Linked DNA regions of Homo sapiens: region 1 is linked to region 2. The links are contacts of gene promoters, found by promoter capture Hi-C in human tissues and cell types (Jung and others, 2019). All regions are on one chromosome and are shown on one strand. The core of a region is centred on a gene start or on the middle of the fragment in contact, and the rest is flanking DNA. Distances in the headings are between cores, read along the strand shown. Region 1 overlaps TMEM38B (transmembrane protein 38B). Region 2 holds the start of TAL2 (TAL bHLH transcription factor 2).

Region 1 (2,801 bases), core at 47-2,546, 43 kb after region 2:
CTGTTGTGGGGTAGGGGGAGGGGGGAGGGATAGCATCAGGCGATATACCTAATGCTAGATGACGAGTTAGTGGGTTCAGTGCGCCAGCATGGCACATGTATACATATGTAACTAACCTGCACAATGTGCACATGTACCCTAAAACTTAAAGTATAAAAAAAAAATACAAAAATTAGCCTGGTGTGGTGGCGCGTGCCTATAATCCCAGCTACTTGGGAGGCTGAGGCATGAGACGTGCTTGAACTCAGGATGCTGAGGTTGCTGTGAGCCGAGATCACTCCACTGCACTCCAGCCTTGGCAACAGAGCGAGACCCTGTCTCAAAATAAATAAATAAGTAATTAAGTAAATAAATAAATATAGTTTGAGTTAGAGACATTGTTCATATCTAGAATGTTTTATTGGCCTTTTTTTTGGGTGTTTTTTTGACTTTGACATTTAAAAAATATAAGCCAGTTGTTGTTGTTGTTTGTTGTTTGTTTTTGTTTTCTCAGAGTAGCCCTCAGTTTGGGTTTGTCTGATTCGATTAGTTCAGGTTGTATATTTTTGTTAGAAATAACCACAGAAGTGGCCGGGCTCGGTGGCTCACGCCTGTAATTCCAGCACTTTGGGAGGCCGAGGTGGGTGGATCACGAGATCAGGAGTTTGAGACCAGCCTGGCCAACATAGTGAAACCCCGTCTCTACTAAAAATACAAAAATTAGCTGGGCGTGGTGGCAGGTGCCTGTAGTCACAGCTACTTGGGAGGCTGAGGCAGGAGAATTGCTTGAACCCAGGAGGTGGAGGTTGTGGTGAGCCAAGATCGCATCACTGCACTCCAGCCTGGGGAACAGAGCAAGACTCTATCTCAAAGTAAAAAAAAAAAAGAGATACCACAGAAGTGATGATGTGTTCTCAGTGTATCATATCAGGAGTCACTTGATGTTATTTACAGTGATGTCTGAAAGGTTTCCCCCACTCTCAAGTTATTATTTTCCTCTACAATTAATAAGTAATTAGTTAAGACTCGTGTTGAGGTAGTATAAATATCTATTCCTAAGAAACCTTTCACCTTTAGGTTTATTTTGTTACTCTGTTTCTCACCTGTCTTGTTGAAAGCTTAGTTTATTTATTTCAACTTCTTTATTTTCCAATATACTTAAGATTGTAAATTTTTCTTAATAAATCACTTTGACATATTGTCTGGGAGTGCTTACTGTAGGGTTTGGGATGGAAGGAGACAATAAGTGAGAATATCGTTTATAATAATCCATTACTAGGAAACTGGCAATGACAGCCTAAACAGAACAGAGTATTTTAAAGGTGCCAAAGTGCCAAAAATCACCCATTAACAAAATGTTTCCAGTCTTGCTTTAAAGAATAAAAGGTATGATTTTTAATGATTTTGACTGGCACACCTATGAATAATAGTTGTTGAAAATTATGAATTTAAGAAGTTTATTTGTTTAGTGCAACTTGTACTTTGGGGCTTGTTTAATAAATGTATAATGATCACAGACCATATTTTACTTTACCATTTCAGGAGCAGCTGCATTGGCATGGAAGAATCCTATTTCAAGCTGGTTTACTGCTATGCTCCACTGTTTTGGTGGAGGAATTTTATCCTGTCTACTGCTTGCAGAGCCTCCATTGAAGTTTCTTGCAAACCACACTAACATATTACTGGCATCTTCAATCTGGTAAGCTGCCAGTATGGTGACCTATGTGACATTTAAACAATTGTGTTGTAAATTGTTAGTAAAATGAATTTTTTTTTCTTTGAACAATATTTTACGTGCTTGAAAAGTTAATGCATCTGCAAGGAAGGAACCCAAATAATGCTAAGGGGTTTTTTTTTTTTTTTTGAGACGGAGTCTCACTCTGTTGCCCAGGCTGAAGTGCAATGGCATAATCTTGGCTCACTGCAACCTCCACCTCCTGGGTTCAAGTGATTCTTCTGCCTCAACCTCTGGAGTAGCTGGAATTACAGCACCCGCCCTCACGCATGGCTAATTTTTGTATTTTTGTAGAGACGGGGTTTCACCATGTTGGCCAGGCTGGTCTTGAACTCCTGACGTGAGGTGATCTGCCCGCCTCGGCCTCCCAAAGTGCTGGGATTACAGGTGTGAGCCACCGCACCCAGCCATGCCAAAGGCTTTAAGTGTAAAGTATATCTCTTTCTTTTTTATTTTCCCTTATCTTCTCCCAGAAGCAATTATTGTCTGCCATTGTCTTATGTACCTTTTTTGTTGTTGTTGAGACATAGTCTTGCTATGTGCAAGACTGCAAGTGCAGTGGCGCGCTCTCAGCTTGTTGCGGGACGCAGAGGATTAGAGAGACCAGTATGCGTGAATACAGGAGGATATTTATTGTGAGGTACACACCGGCTCAGTGGATTTACCTCCAAAAAGCTGGGCCTTGAATAAAGACAGAGCGAGGTTTTTATAAGTGGGCTCATAAGAGCAAAACAAAGGTAGTTAATCATATAGTGCATAACTTGTGGCCTTGCATAGCTGGTGGCCTTTTAGCTGTGTCAAAAGAAAAACAAGAATTGGCTAAATACAGGCATTTGTAAAACACCGTTATGCTTAAGAGGCAAGGGAAAGGAGTAACAATAAAGGAATTTGTCTTTCTCTCTCTTTTTTTTTTCCTTAACCTTGCTCTGGAGGGGGCGGGGGTGTCTGGAGCCCATTCCTCTGTCCTTGGCTTTTTGGACAGTGTTATAACTGTTCTTGAATTGAGCTGCTAAGCAGAGGAAAACTTTTTTTTTTTTCTTTTTAACCCTTATTACAGGCTCACTGCAACCTCCACCTCCTGGGTTCA
Region 2 (2,745 bases), core at 222-2,721:
AGGGCTTGGAAAGGGAAGATCTCACCTGCTGTTTAAAGAAATAGGTAAGTAGAGAGTGGGGAGGAAATTCAAGGAACAGAAAATGACAATGTGCGAAAGTGTAGAGTTGGGAATATTCATGAGTCTTCGGAGGAACTAGAAAGGGCCCAGTGCCCAGAGGAGCTGAGCGTGGAGCAGGCAGCAGACCAATAGCAGTAAGCCAAGAACATCAAACTGCCTGGGGCTAGACTTGGGCTTGTTTGCCAGTGCCTCCCAAGTGTTCCTATTAGCACATGTTAATCCAAGCCACTTGAAAAAAGGGACTCTTGCCTCTAAGAGTGAAAAATGCCTGCATAATGCTCGGCAGTATGTGATGATAAACCACTCTCCTAGACTTGGAAAGGTCATCCAATGCAGCCCCAAAGAGGCCCAAGTATCTTCTACAGAATCCACGCCAAATCACCACTCCCACCTGCCCCTTGTCTTTTCATTTTTGCGAGACTAAATACCCCCACTTCTGTTCTTCATACACCAGGGTTTCAAGACCCTTCATCATTCTGTTCCTGCTCCTCTAAATATAGTCCAGTCTGGATATTTTAGTTCTTACAGAGAGGGGCTGAATCCTCCAGGTGAGGTCTGCCAGCTAACAAGAGAGCTGTATTGTCTTCTCTATTCCAAATTTTATTTTATTAACGAAACCTACAATCATTTTCTTTTTTTACTTCATTCTGATAATACATTGTTGATTCATATTCAACTCTCTGTTGGTGGCCGGGCATCGTGACTCACGCTTGCAATCCCAGCACTTTGGGAGGCCGAGGCGGGTGGATCACCTGAGATCAGGAGTTTAAGACCAGGCTGGCCAACATGGTGAAACCCCATCTCTACTAAAAATATAAAAACTAGCCAGGCGTGGTGGCAGGCGCCTATAGTCCCAGCTACTCCGGAGACTGAGGCAGGAGAATCGCTCAAACCCGGGAGCTGGAGGTTGCAGTGAGCTGAGATGGTGCCATGGCACTCCAGTCTGGGTGACAGAGTGAGACTCCATCTCAAAAAAAGAAAAAAACAAAAAACAAAAAACAAACTTTCTATTGGCCAAACATATGTTGCATTTATACATAAACTCAATCAATATTGTACCTGATTCTGAACAATTAGGAAGAGTTGGTTATAAAGGAAGAAACAGGAGTATTGGGACAAAGCAATCTTTCAACTGGAGGCTTCAAAACAGCCAGAGAGAAAAAGCTGAAGGGTGTTGTTCTTACCTTCCCCTGTTGTTTTTAAGTTAAAAAAAGAAATTATGCATAATTCATAGCGTCACTGATGCCTCGAAAGGTGAGAGGCATATGTTTGTGTCCCTGTGGGGTTGTTTTCTTTTTTAAAAACCTGAAAATGAGGAAATGAATCTCGTAAGCTCTGAGTCGAGAAAATCTAACATCTCAGGTTCTTGGCAGGACATGTGATACCAATCAGGCCTCTTATAAGATATTGGCCCTGAGGGCCCTTTCTCTTTCCATCTCAGGAACTCAAACATGACCAGGAAGATCTTCACAAATACCAGGGAGCGGTGGAGGCAGCAGAATGTCAACAGCGCCTTTGCCAAGCTGAGGAAGCTCATCCCCACTCACCCTCCAGACAAAAAGCTGAGCAAAAATGAAACGCTTCGCCTGGCAATGAGGTATATCAACTTCTTGGTCAAGGTCTTGGGGGAGCAAAGCCTGCAACAAACGGGAGTGGCTGCTCAGGGGAACATTCTGGGGCTCTTCCCTCAAGGACCCCACCTGCCAGGCCTGGAGGACAGAACTCTGCTTGAGAACTACCAGGTTCCTTCACCTGGTCCAAGCCACCACATTCCTTAGTGTGGCTCTGGCTGTCATCTCCCAGGGCAGCACTTGCCCAGAAATCACTGCCTGTGGACAGACTTTTGCATGTTCCAGAGTTGACCTGATGATAACTCGTGAAGCATGAATTCTAGCTTCCTGGGAGGTGGCTCAGAGACAGCTGCAGGGAGCTGAAAGAAGCCATGAGGAATGTCACTTGTGGGCCGCCACCCCCCAGGGATGTCAGGTAGAGCGGCCTACCTCTGCCTATTTTAAATCCAGGTTCTGCATAAGACTTTTGGAGAAAAAATTCTAAATAAAAAAAAAAAAAGGCTGAAAATCACTGTTTATACTCAATGTCTTCAGTTATAAGAAAGAAGTTTTCTCATAATGGATCTCAGATGAATAAGTAGAATATGCTTCCTTCAGAACATATTTTAAAGTTTGTTTTGAAAAATGAGATTTGATCAAGGGTGAACAAAATAAATCTTAAGATTGATGGGCCGGGCACGGTGGCTCACGCCTGTAATCCCAGCACTTTGGGAGGCTGAGATGGGCAGATCACCTGAGGTCAGGAGTTTGAGACCAGCCTGGCCAACATGGTGAAACTCCGTCTCTACTACAAATACAAAAATGAGCCAGGTGTGGTAGTGCGCACCTGTAATCCCAGATACTCAGGAGGCTGAGGCACGAGAATCGCTTGAACCCGGGAGGGGGAGGTTGCAGTGACCCAAGATCATGCCACTGCACTCCAGCCTGGGCAACGGAGCAAGACTCGCTCTCAAAAACAACAATAACAAAAAAAGTTTTCTCATAATGGATCTCAGATGAATGAGTAGCAGCATATGCTTCCCTCAGAACAGATTTTAAAGATGGTTTTGAAAAATGAGATGCATTTGATCAAAGGTGAACAAAATAAATCTTAAGATTGATGAATAGAAAGATA

The links. Contacts are between HindIII fragments. The study calls those that stand out against the background at their distance.
Region 1: a fragment that was not itself captured here is called in contact with the fragment with the promoter of TAL2 in region 2 in 1 of the 25 tissues and cell types used here (thymus).

Annotation. Positions count from the first base shown.
Region 1 is chr9:105,704,076-105,706,876 of GRCh38, forward strand. It overlaps TMEM38B (transmembrane protein 38B), which reads left to right. Exons shown (of 6, transcript NM_018112.3): 2 at 1,522-1,678. LOC107987107 (a long non-coding RNA gene) reads right to left here. Exons shown (of 4, transcript XR_001746868.2): 4 at 2,224-2,395. Among named protein-coding and RNA genes, the nearest start is that of TMEM38B, 11 kb to the left of the region's middle. The HindIII fragment of the contact is 6,802 bases long and covers 1-2,801 here.
Region 2 is chr9:105,660,986-105,663,730 of GRCh38, forward strand. It overlaps TAL2 (TAL bHLH transcription factor 2), which reads left to right and starts at 1,472. Exons shown (of 1, transcript NM_005421.3): 1 at 1,472-2,139. The coding sequence starts at 1,512. The coding sequence ends at 1,838. RefSeq lists an enhancer at 1,499-1,588. The HindIII fragment of the contact is 2,755 bases long and covers 960-2,745 here.